Linked DNA regions of Homo sapiens: regions 1, 2 and 4 are each linked to region 3. The links are contacts of gene promoters, found by promoter capture Hi-C in blood cells and fetal thymus (Javierre and others, 2016). All regions are on one chromosome and are shown on one strand. Each heading gives the region's core, a stretch centred on a gene start or on the middle of the fragment in contact. The rest is flanking DNA. Distances are from core to core; before and after follow the strand shown. Region 1 overlaps PRPS2 (phosphoribosyl pyrophosphate synthetase 2). Region 2 overlaps NHS (NHS actin remodeling regulator). Region 3 holds the start of PIGA (phosphatidylinositol glycan anchor biosynthesis class A). Region 4 has its middle 7.5 kb from the start of TLR8-AS1.

Region 1 (3,175 bases), core at 612-3,111, 2.5 Mb after region 3:
CTGGAAACCGGAAAAGGCACGGGAACAGATTCTCCCCTAGAGCCTCAGAAGAGAATACAGCCCTGCTAACCTGTGACAGACATTACCGTAACTTACAGAACTGTAAGATACCGCAGCAACAGAGACTACATGTGCTAGCACTGCCTAAAATATTTACGATTTGGCCCTTTGCAGAAAAACTTTGCCAACTCCTGGTCTTATGACGTTTATCCCACAAGATTAGATTCTTTGGCCTGTTTTTACTCAGGAACCTCAGTTCTCATATGACTAGCAGTCCAGGGGAGGACAGAGAATATCATCACCATGGCAACTTTTCCCCTAAAGCTAGTCCTGCTTCTACTCAAAAAGATGATCATGACTACCTTTATTCTAGGTCTTTAAAAAATTGTGGCTAGAAGGCAGCATCCATTTGCCATTCTGCCAGAGGATCTTTATTGACCCCCAAATAAAAACGCTGAAGAGCGTCACTGACTCAACAATAAACGGGCATGGTAACTAAAAGATAGCCACAGACTCTTAACACATTTCCCATCAAGGAGCAGGGTCTAGTCTCCCGCCCTTGAATCTGAGAGGGCTCTGTACTTGCCCAACAGCATATGACAGAAATTATGATACACCAACTTGCAAGCCCAGTCCTTAATGGACTGGTGGCTTCAATGTCCTGTCTTTTGGAACATGTGCTCTTAGAACCCAGCTTCCATGCTGTAAGGAAGCTCAAGCAGCCCCATGGAGAGGCCTACAAGAAGAGGAGCTGAGGTTCCTAACCAAGCTCCCAGGCAAAAGCTAGTAACAACTTCAGTCATGTGAGCCATCTTCAAGAACCCTCCAGCCCCAGTTAGCCGCCTCAGCTGTGACCAGCCTCAGCTGTGACCATACGCGGCAAAAACAAGCTTTCTTCACTGAGCCCTTCCCAAATTGCAGATTTGTAAGCCAAATCAACAATTACTGTTTTAAGCCATTAAGCTCTTTATTTATTACATGGTAACCGATAACCTTGTATAACTTTGCATAACCTTGTCTCACAGTATAGCTAAAGATTCTGCCAGCAGGTTAACTGACCATAGTAAAATGTTACAACAGAGACATCTAGACACCTGCTGTCCTAAGATGTCATCATGGAATTTCCATGGTCTATAGTGAAGCTGGAGCGGACCTCTCCCTGCATATCTGAAATGATTTAGGGATAAGAAGGTAAAATTGGAAGGCTCTATGTTCAGTAAAGTAGCATATAAAAAACGCAAAATGGGAGGATTGATGGCCAGGAGACAGCAAACCAGATTTCTGATCCTAGTTCAGTGACAGATTCAAGAAGGGGCCCTTACATGAACTGAATCAATTTTGTCTTCATTTTGCCCTTCAGTTTTTCCTCTCTACGATTACACAGCTAAAAGCTGGATTCCTAGCACAGTAACTGGTCCAGAGAGGGCTGTTTATAAAAATTAAGCTCTGTACTTGTACAGTTCATGGAAAAGAGAAAAGTCAGGCAGTGAACCTTTTATACTCTATACATTAAAAACATAAAATGTAGCTATATAGGCAATTCCCAAACTTCATGCTGAGTGGTTTTTGAGGTCCCACGATTTCTAATTATCAAGTGATGGTTATAAAATGCCAAAAACAAAATAAAAGTGAGTCTGCTTTATATTTGAACCAAATGTATAAACAATCATACTTCAGTGTCTGAGTGAGTTTTGCCCAGTGGCACATGTGGTATTTTTAGGAGAAACTCAACACTGACTTAGCAGTGAACTGATCTAGATTAACCATGCTCCTTAGCAAAAGATCATGCTGCACTGAGTACCTGGAAGGGCAACATATTTGCTTTCAAAATTTACTTCATCAACAAATTTCTCCTTTACTTATATGACGACACCTTCTGAACAAAAACTATTCTTCTTCTCGTGTTCTTACAGCGACTGAAACTTGAACAAGACTGGCAAAATACTGCAACACTCAAACCTAGCTCTATCCTTCTCCAGAGCCCTAGACCATCCTCTCAGACTTCTGCATTAAACACTGCAGAGTGGAATTCTTTAGCCAAAGTCCACCTGCCACTCATTCACAATGTTTCTTCGCTTATATTATCATCGGAGCCATAACTGGAATTTGCCACCTGGAAGAAGTCACGTAAGATTCACATATCCTAAAAAGCTGACTTGCCAAAATATAGCATCTTCCCCATCAGTATTAACATAACTCCTCCTTAAGAAATTTTTGCCTAACCCCAAGTCAAGATTTTCTGCTAGAAATTTTATAGTTCTAGATTTTACAATTAGGTCTATGATCCACTTCAAAGTTAATTTTTACAAATGGTGAAAAGTATGGATGGAAGTTCATATTTTTTGGCATATGGGTGTCCAACTGTTCCAACACCATTTCTAGAAAATGTTGGTAAAATTGAACCTTTGCCAAAGATATAAAAATTATCAGTAACTGTGGACAGTTAACGGTACTAGACATTGGAGGAAGAAGGGGGAAAAATGAGACCAATTTGAAATGAGTCAAGGAGCTGTGTGGACTCAGGCAGATAGACAAAGGAGCCCCCCAGGTCAGCTTCCGAGGATGGCCACCACCTGAGGCTCTCCTGGACTTGAGAAATGGGTGAAAGTTACAGTCGAATCACGGCGTTGTTGCTGGACACAGCAGAGTCCTAGAACAAGAAGGAAGCTGAAAGTCCATCATCTTTAAAGCAGCAAGAGTAGTGGGAGCAGAGGGGAGCCCAGCACGTGCGTCCTGGGGTTCTCACAGTCTTTCAAACCTTGGCACAACTGCACCCTCTGGATAACGCAGTGGTCTGCGCCCTGGCTGCTCAGGAGAAGCCAGGGAAGCTTGTAAAATCGCTGATCCTCCGCCCGTTGGATCAAACCCTTGGGGGCAGGTCGGGGGAAGCAGCGTTCGGACCGTCCCCAGGTAAACCCAGCGTGCAACCAGAGTTGGGGACGGGGGGAAACCTTTAGTCGCACGCACTGGTCTGAGGTTCAGCTTTGTAGGGACGCGGAAACTGGGACCAGCCAACCCAGGACGTCTCTCCACCGCGCGCTGACCCGATGCGGTTCCCGCCCGCTGCGCCCACTCTCTCCCCGACGGTCTGTGACCGCCCAGACGTCTCCCTTCCGGGCTGGGGACGCCAGGCCGGGCGGCACCGCTGGGAGGCCGGGAGCGGCTCGGGACCGCC
Region 2 (3,176 bases), core at 240-2,739, 2.4 Mb before region 3:
TGCGCAACCCTTCTAGTGGCGTTGTAGTTAGGGACGTGGTGTCCCCCCTTCGTTGTTGGGGTGTCCGAAGCTTTTTTTTTTTTTTAATGTGATCCCGCCCCTCCCCCGCGCTCTGTGACGCACCAGAGACGTCGTCGTAAACTGGGTTTCCTGGACGCACGCCAGTGATTGACTTGGAATGAGGAGAGGGGCGGGGCCTTAGCAGTTGCCCTGAGCCAGGTCTGGTAGGAAGGGCGAGGGGGGCCAGGGTGGGGGGCGGGCAAGATATTTCCAGTCTCCAGCACCCACAAGTTGGACTGGGGAACTAACGCAGACCTTGAAGGCAGATTTACTGGATTGGACCCCCAGCTCCAACACAGTCCTCCTATGGCCTTAGGCAAGCCAAGTAACCGCTTTGTGCTTCGGTTTCCCCATCTGTAAAATGGGTATAATATGGGGACTACATGAGTTAATGTATGCAAAGCACTTAGAACAGTACCTGGCATAGAATTTTGCTATTGTAATAAAGGCTATGTGACATCATCTAGTGGCATATAGTCTTACATACTTATATCGAGGCTGCTCATCTTGGGAAGGAGACACAGTCTGAGTAATTATCAGAAGCAAAGCAGGCAGATATTTCAAAGTAAAGCTATACATCTTTTCTTGGCCCAGAGAGGAGCTACAAAGAAAGTATACTGGACGTTGGAAATGTATCATTTTTCCTCTCAAATACGAAGCTAGATTAAAGCCCATTATAGATATAGTATATGTTTTTTTTTTGTTTTTGTTTTTGTTTGAGACGGAGTTTTGCTCTTGTTGCCCAGGCTGGAGTGTAGCGGTGTGATCTCGGCTCACTGCAACCTCTGCCTCCTGGGTTCAAGCGATTCTCCTGCCTCAGCCTCCAGAGTAGCTGGGATTACAGGCGTCTGCCACCATGCCCAGCTAATTTTTGTATTTTTAGTAGAGACGGGTTTCACCATGTTGGACAGGCTGGTCTATGTTCTTTTTGCTCCTACTTTTGCCATAACAGACCCTGCCCTTATGTCCTGTTGCCTGTAAAACACTGTTGCGAAGCCCCAAGAAATCAATTACGTAACAGTGAAGAGAGAAACCGGTTGTTTAATTGCAGTCACGTTTATTTGCAGTTTCTATACACACTTTCTAGGTAATCAAACTTTTCTGATACATTTTTTTTGAGAGGGGTTCACAATGAAACTGTCACCATTTTTACTAAAAATAAATACAAGACTTAAAGTGTTGCACAGCTCTAAAATATACAAAGGCTTGGATTGAATGTAAACGTTGAAAACATCTTACAAAAGAAACCATCTTTGCAGCAATTTAAAAAGTTCATATTTACAAATATTACAAAAATACAAAATGGATGCAAGTCCATAAACCATTGTCGTTTCGGCCAGCATGAACTGGTTCTAGTACCAAAATAGTTACACTGTAACCTTCTTCATAGTTTTAAATCTTTATTACCATCTAGTTCTCTACGTGCCACCACTGCAGCAAATGCACTCACTCACTGACCTTTGGCAAGAGCAAACAGCATGTTCTGTTTGCTACAACTAGTCCATGTCCTCTACTTAGCCAAAAACAAATCAAAACAACAACAAAACCAAAGTAGAATTTTTAAAAAATGAAAAAATTTCCCCTACACAACATAGATACGTTGTATAAACATAAAAGAACAAAAAATCGCATCAGTGCAAACAACAGAAGAAAAGTTCGGATTGATGTTCTTCACAATACCTAACGTGTGTACCCTGCTTCAAGACGGCAGTGATGTTAAAGACAGCCCTAAATCTTGGTCTTGTTTGCTATGTAATCAAGCCATGTAGAATATTCCAGATTATTAGGGAACTTCCTGCTTTTTCTTCTCAGTTTGTAACTCAATACTCTTTTCCACAGTGAATTTTAAATCCATCTTTATTTGGGTTTTTTAAATCTATGAAATATAAAATAGAGAAACTCTGCTATAGATTTTTAGAGTAAACAAAATAAGTAAAACTATATTATAAGGGTTAGTTCTGTGATCATTACATATAGAAGGTATCTTATTGCCTCACAATTCAAGTCAATATGTATTTTAAAAAATATATGGTACCATTACTTAATGTCAATAATAAAAAGGTGACATTTTTATTAAAGCCAATTCATGTGTTTTCTATTCAAGATTTAGAATCACTTTTAAAGCCCACATACCTTTCTTCACACTTAAAAAACCCCTAACTACACAAAAGCCATACTGCAAACGAACTGCTTTTATGAAATTACGAAAGATCGCCTACTGTGACTGGAAATGACGGTTTCTTATCGCATTTGCCTAAAAACTTTATTTTTAAAACTTTGCAAGGTGTACTTTTCAAATCATGAGACAGATTTATTCATGTTCCCATGTGGTGTCAAACCATGCTGGTTTTCTTAATTAATGGGTTCCAATGAGAAATGGTGGTCCATTTTATTCAAACCCCAAAATATTTTTCTTTTAAGAAAAAGTGTGACATTTTGTAAATGTTCAAACCCTTTACCAGGTAGCTTATCTATCCCCAGTGTGTGTGCGTACACACACACTCACACTCACACACACCCATACACACTCTCTCTGACTCTCCCTCCTCTTATACCCCTCCACCCCCAGCACCCATTTTACATACAAGGATGACAAGAAATTTAGTAACACAGTTTGGTAGTGAAAACAAATAGTAGAAGAAGCCAGACATTTTTTTTCTTTCCAAACAAACAAAACAACAGCAATCAGATTATCTATTCTTAATCTGTAGCAGTTTAGAAATCATTTCTATTGAAAGACAGTATCTTCTTAGACCAGGCTTCCTCCTTCATTTTGCATGAATTAATCCAAAATGCAAACCCTCTTCCACACCTCCTACTTTCCCAACTACCACTTGCATAAGCTTAAAGCCAGCAGCTTGTCAATTTCTTGGTAACATTGGTATGTTCTATCACTCTAATCACATTCTAGTCTTTTATAAGTCAGATCCCTTCTTAATTCTCTCTCTGTTCTACCTCTCCCATTCAAAACCTATTCTAAGTACATAGCTGCTTATATTTCTGACATAAGATTCCAAACATTAGTATAAGTTCATGTTAAAATCAGAGGTGTAAAAACCATTTGCAGATTTTAACGTGTAACTACATTTTTTTTTCAGTTTTAAGACAAGAAAATT
Region 3 (2,937 bases), core at 289-2,788:
TAACCCTCATTTATACCTTCCAGGATTTCTACCCCCACTCTTTGTCTTAAAACCTATTACAAAAATGGAAAGGAGGCCAAATGCTGTACCTATCTGGTAATGTCGCTGTTATCTGTGAAACCAACTACAAATTATAAAGCTTAATTAAGTGTCCTTGAGTCTTCATCACTGTAATTCTCCGATGCTTCATCAATATTAACACAGGGCAAAGTATCGATTGCTACTCTAGTCTTACTCATCAACTCATTAATTCGCTTCAAATCTCACAACTAAAATGCTCTTTCAATGATGTTATTGCACTGTAATTTGTATAAGGTACACTCCACGAAATACTGTCAATACATTTTATTGTGAGCATCTAATATGTGTCAGGGAGTGTGCTGACATTGGGTAAAGAAATTCATGTATTAAACTAAAACTTCCTCAACATCCATTACCAAGAACAGATCCTGCCTCAGTTTACTATCTGGCAGGGAAGGCAGACATTTAACAAGCAAATACAATTTCCGTTTTCAGAAAGAAGTCCATGTGAGATCTCAAGAGACAAGTAATCAAGGATCAGGGTGAGGAGGGAGAATGCAATCAGGCAAACAACTTGAATATCATCTGATAAATGTTATACTTTGGCCAGCATGTGGCCAAAGTACTATTAAAATTAAAAAGTGAGAGTATTTCATTCTCTGGAGGCTTGGGGAAAGCATCAGAAAGGAGCAGACATTTTCAGGGATGAATAGGCTTACACTAGGCTTAATAAAATGGGTGCCAGTAACGGTGGCTGTGATGGTACTCAGAAAGGAATTTCTTCTCGAAAACGCACGTATGGCAGGGATGGGGGATTCCAAGTACCAGCTGTGACGCATGGATGACCGTCATACCACTCTCACTGATTCTTTAGCTTCCTAGTCAAGCACCATCGTAACTAGTTGAACCAGTCGAGTGGGAGTTGATATTTCAGATCAGACCTCGTATGTTTCCCTCAGAGTGTAGAATTGCCATATAAATAACAGGATGTCTAGTTAAATTTACATGTCCGATAAAAAACGAATGTGTAGTGAAGTCCCCAATATTTGGTACATGCTTGTATTAAACATCATTTGTGCTTTATCTGAAATTAAAACTTCATAGTTTCATCTGTTTTGACTTTTTGTGTATTTTTATTTATTTATCTGGCAAACGTCCCAGAGCGGTAAGAACCGGCACGGTTTTGCCGTGGCACAGCTGATTACAAACAAAAAGTCTCTCCAATCAGAAGCAAGCGCGCAGAGAACTGGCGTCCGGAATAGAGACGCTGTAACCAGGAAACCAGGGTGAGCACCCACCCTACCGTCGGCCGCTTCTAGGAGACGGGCGCAGGCGCGCGCTGACGTTACATCTCGCGCTTAAGGGTGGGGACGACAGAGCGTCTCTCTCGGACGTGACCTCAGCGCCTCTTTGTGATTGGCTGCCTCGGGGGCGCGGCCCTTGGGCGCGGACGCCCTAGATTGGTGCTGCGGAACAGCAGGGAGGGACTCCGGCTGCAGCCGCGGGAGGTCCGGACACTGGCGGCCATGGAACTCACCGGTGAGTGCGCGTCGCGCCGCCCCTCTCCAGCGCTCTGGGCCGCTTTCGGATGGGGCTGTTCTGCGCGCGTGGGATCGTGGCGGGTGGTGGAGGGGGTGAAACCGACCCGGTTCGAAGCCCGGAAGTTGGGTCGGAGGGTCTCCAGAGTAGGTTGGGGCTGAGGGTGCGTTTAGGGCGGACGCGCTGGGTTCCTTGGCTCAGGCGGGTGGGTCGAGGGACTGGGGTCTCCGGAACCCCGGGCCTGAGACCAACGTCCACTCTTTGGTTGTTTTCTTTCTCTCTTTGGGCCTGGCCATCCCCGCCATGAACCCAGCGGGGTCGCTGTCTGAGCAGGGGTATCCCCTCCTTGGCCCGAGCGTTTCCCCAGCGACCTCTCAGGGAATCAGGGAATGAAGCTCAGACAGTGCCCAGGAATTGTCGGTGGAAGTACCATTCTCTTGACCCACAACTCCTGCCAGGTCTCCCTAAGGTTCTTCAGGAACCTCTACTGCTAATGATTGCCCAGGGCTCGTTGGTCGTGGTCGAGAATTTTACGGTAATGTCTTTGCCACTTTAAGTGGCTGGGTGGGAACCTTGGACAAATCACTCAACTTGTCTGGGTTCTCATTTGTAAAACGAGAGAGGTATTCACTAGAGCTCCAAGCCTCATTTCGGCTTTAAGAGCTAAGATTCTGCGATTGTGCAGCATAATGAACTTTTATGTCAAAGATGTTTGGACTGAAAACCTGGCGGAAGTGGGCAGACTCCTCACAGAACGTTGCAGGCTAATGACAACATTTTAAATGATATCATTTGGTTCATTACTCACTGTTTTTGCTATCGTTCATCTTTTAAAACTGGTAGAACTGGAAGTTCGGGTTTAGGTGACCACAGTAAGAAAATGTTAGTTAAGCCACCTAAAAGTACAAACTTGGGGAATTTCAATATTTGGTAATATTGAATCTTAATTAGTAAACTCAGTCAACAAACACTTCTGGGGTCTTTCCGAGAGTATATTTAAAATGTAGATGAGGCCGGGCACGGTGGCTCACACCTGTAATCCCAGCACTTTGGGAGGCCGAGGCTGGTGGATCACCTGAGGTCAGGGGTTCGAGACCAGCCTGGCCAACATGATGAAACCCCGTCTCTACTAAAAATACAAAAATTAGCTGGGCTTGTGGTGTGCGCCTGTAATTCCAGCTATTCAGGAGGCTGAAGTGGGAGAATCGCTTGAACTCGGGAGGCAGAGGCTGCAGTGAGACGAGATCGCTCCACTGCACACTAGCCTGGGCAACAGAGTGAGACTCCGTCTCAAAAAAAAAAAAAAAAAAAAAAAGTAGATGAATTTGTTGGAGAGACTAGACAGTTAAGCCTTTGCACATACAGTTAATTGGCATT
Region 4 (2,965 bases), core at 13-2,512, 2.4 Mb after region 3:
CAAAAATTAGCCAGGCTTGGTGGCGTGCACCTGTAATCCCAGCTACTCGGGAGGCTGAGGCAGGAGAATTGCTTGAACCTGGGAGGCGGAGGTTGCAGTGAGCTGAGATCACACCACTGCACTCCAGCCTGGGCAACAGAGCAAGACTCCGTCTCAAAAAAAATTTATAATAATAATAAATTAAAAGGCAGATTAATTGGAGAAAAAGCATACAAATTTATTGTGCACATGGAGGAGAACCATAGAGTGATTACCAATCCCCGCAGTGGGGTACAGAAGCCTTGAGGTTACAGAAAGACTGGAGGCTTGGATCTTGGCAAAGAGATTATGGCATGGGGAGAAGAGGAGGCCTGGCTGGCAAAGGCGTTCTTGTTACATAGGAGAAATCTCAGAGGTAGCCGCTCTCAGACAGAATAGATAGTAAATGTTTCTTTCAGACCTTTAAAGGTATCAGACTCTCAGTTTTTCCTAGATATGGACAAGAGAGAGCCTCAGAGAAAGCCTGGCTGTATCAACGTAGTTTTTCTCTGCAGATGCAAATCTTCGCCACATGAGACAGTTTTGTAGGGCTGCTTCTGTTTGCGGGCCCTGTGAACAGCCATCTCAAAATATGTCAAAGAAATATATTTTGGGGTAAAATATGTTGATTCCTTCACTGGGCTTGAGGTGCCCCACTCCCAAGTTTGAGAGAAGAATCTGGGAGAGGTTTGGGAGATTTTTTTCTTTCTGGTTTTAATTGCACTCTGTTTCCTCCAGAGTTTACAGTTATTATTATTACTGTGTGATCTAATTATGTGCAAGCAACATAATCACAGAACTGATTATGCCTCTGAAAATTGGAAGGGAATATTTTGGGGGAAAAACCCAAATTGAGAAATGACTGAGTTTATAGCCAGTAACAGCTGTTGTTTTTAGGAAGTTAAATCGATTTCTTTTGCTCAAAGAGTTTCTACTTCCTGAAGAGATGTACCCTGTTTTCTATGGGTGCAAAGGCAGTCTGTGTACATCATGATACTCCATACGGGCCTGATGGCGCTCAAACAGAAGGCCAGGCCAGCAGGCATCAGAAGCTTTTCCTTTCCCCCAGTTTCCTGTTTCCAGATCGTATTCCAAAGCTATAATTTCTACTTACCTTGAAGACCTTCAGTTTTCCCTGTTTCCTTCCTCTACTCCCTGAGCCTCTCACTATGAGATCCCTAGAGTGTGGTTGTAACGGCCTCCTCTAGCGGGTGCCCAGGCCCCAGTCTGCTCTGCTCCACACTTCCCCCTAGGGGCAGTTCTCTGCCTGCGTCCATGCTACCCCCTGCTTCTAAACCTTCCAGCGATCCTCAACACCAGTCGCCTATAAAGTACAAGGGCCTTGCACTTTATAGTTGGCCTTCAGGGAGGGCACAGTTTGCAGCCAGTACTGCCTACCAGCACACTTCTGTTTCCTTCAGCTCACCAAAGCTTTAGCCATGAGAGTTTATCATTCCTTCCTCATCTTCCTGTCCACGCCTGTATTTCCAGATCATTCACACTGTGCCCTCTGCCAGGAATGCCTTAGTCTCATTTCCAACCTCACGGCCACCTTAGGAGACAGCTCTTGTGGCATAGATGTTAAGATGGAAGGTTCTGGAGTCAGGCTGCAGGATTTGTATACTAATTCTGCCCAGGGTGTGCAGCCTGTGCAGTCACATAAGAGCCACACTAAGGAGGGCTCCGGGCTTGGTTTTTTGCTCTGCTACCACCATCTTGAAATTCTTAATCATTTTTGAACCAGGGCACTGGACTTGCAAACTATGTAGCCAATTCTGCTTCTGACACTGACAAACTGTCTAACTATAAAATCAGGATGACAGTGAAGGCTTAGAACAGGGTCAGGCACTTTGGAAGCGGTCAGTGAATGGGAGCTATCATTATCCCCATCTTACACACCAGGAAAGAGGCTCAGTGAGTTGCTCCACACCCCACAGCTGTCACGTGACAGAAACGGTGACGTGGCTTACTTTCACTTCCCACGCCGATGTGAACTTTCCTACGTAGCCCTGACTCTTTGTAGCACGTGGTCATGTCTGCTCTCAGTGTATTATGTGGCAGTATTTAAAGGCTGCTCATACTGCCTTTGTTCCTTTAGAAGTAAGCAAAGCACAGAGTTAGTATTTCTCACACTTGAAAAATGAGAACAGTAAATCAGTGACTGCCTTAAACATCCAAATCCAATTATGACCTTTGCTGAGACAAAGATGCTGGCATCAGAGTCTGGAGTCTGGGGCTCTGTGAACCCACACACCATGCCTGTCCCTCTTCAGTCTGGAGCCAGAATCCTCCCTTTCCCACAAAAGACAAAAGATGCTAACAGATGCACGCTGGTTTCCGGAGGAAAAGGCCACTTCTGTGAGCCAGTGGGAAGACGGGAAGTCTTTCCTGCAGGAAGGGGGTAGGTAGCTCAGGATACTAGCAGGAGATGCTTTTAATTGTTCTGCAACAGTGACAGCTCAGCATCGTGATTCCTGGTGGTGCTGGGGTGCAGTACTATTGTTAATGTCAGCTCCCATTCATTCATTCCTCTATTTTCACACTCACACATTCTGAATGCAGTTATTATGCTGTGGTCTTGGGGAAGGAGCTGTGCTAGTGGAAAGTGATGCAAAGTGAAAAGAATATTCTTGCCACTTGGGGATTAGGGAGAAAACCAGCAAGTATGCAAAGATTCACAACCATCTGGTGAGTGCCTAAAGCCAGATATTATCAGAACTCGGGTAAAACCAGAGGCCTAGAAAAGGCAGGAAAAACATGGCTCCCTCAAGAGGTGAAATTTGAGCTGAGATTTGAGGGATAAGGAGATCTGATTGCCAGTCCCGTTGAATTCATTTCCTATCCCTGTAGTAGCAAAGGACCACAGATCCAGCAGCTTAAACAACACAAATTGATCATCTTAAAGTTCTGGAGGTCAGAAGTCTCACTGGGCCAAAATCAACGTACC

The links. Contacts are between HindIII fragments. The CHiCAGO score rates a contact against its expected background, and 5 or more counts as called.
Region 1: a contact is called between a fragment that was not itself captured here and the fragment with the promoter of PIGA in region 3, in 7 of 17 cell types (non-activated CD4 T cells, naive CD4 T cells, activated CD4 T cells and 4 more). The highest score is 19.6, in non-activated CD4 T cells.
Region 2: a contact is called between a fragment that was not itself captured here and the fragment with the promoter of PIGA in region 3, in 1 of 17 cell types (total B cells). The highest score is 6.3, in total B cells.
Region 4: a fragment that was not itself captured here is called in contact with the fragment with the promoter of PIGA in region 3 in 1 of 17 cell types (naive CD8 T cells); the score reaches 5.3 in naive CD8 T cells.

What each region holds. Positions count from the first base shown.
Region 1 is chrX:12,791,877-12,795,051 of GRCh38, reverse strand. The region is part of intron 1 of PRPS2 (phosphoribosyl pyrophosphate synthetase 2); the gene reads right to left. Among named protein-coding and RNA genes, the nearest start is that of PRPS2, 2.1 kb to the right of the region's middle. RefSeq lists a silencer at 2,935-3,175. The HindIII fragment of the contact is 1,938 bases long and covers 893-2,830 here.
Region 2 is chrX:17,733,919-17,737,094 of GRCh38, reverse strand. NHS (NHS actin remodeling regulator) reads right to left here. Exons shown (of 9, transcript NM_001291867.2): 9 at 1,101-3,176. Among named protein-coding and RNA genes, the nearest start is that of SCML1, 2.0 kb to the left of the region's middle. The HindIII fragment of the contact is 2,833 bases long and covers 73-2,905 here.
Region 3 is chrX:15,334,124-15,337,060 of GRCh38, reverse strand. It overlaps PIGA (phosphatidylinositol glycan anchor biosynthesis class A), which reads left to right and starts at 1,538. Exons shown (of 6, transcript NM_002641.4): 1 at 1,538-1,560. RefSeq lists enhancers at 1,607-1,686, 1,737-1,786. The HindIII fragment of the contact is 3,001 bases long and covers 142-2,937 here.
Region 4 is chrX:12,949,354-12,952,318 of GRCh38, reverse strand. No RefSeq gene overlaps it. Among named protein-coding and RNA genes, the nearest start is that of TLR8-AS1, 7.5 kb to the right of the region's middle. RefSeq lists enhancers at 955-1,184, 1,115-1,409, 1,815-2,109 and cis regulatory regions at 1,038-1,467, 1,737-2,149. The HindIII fragment of the contact is 379 bases long and covers 1,073-1,451 here.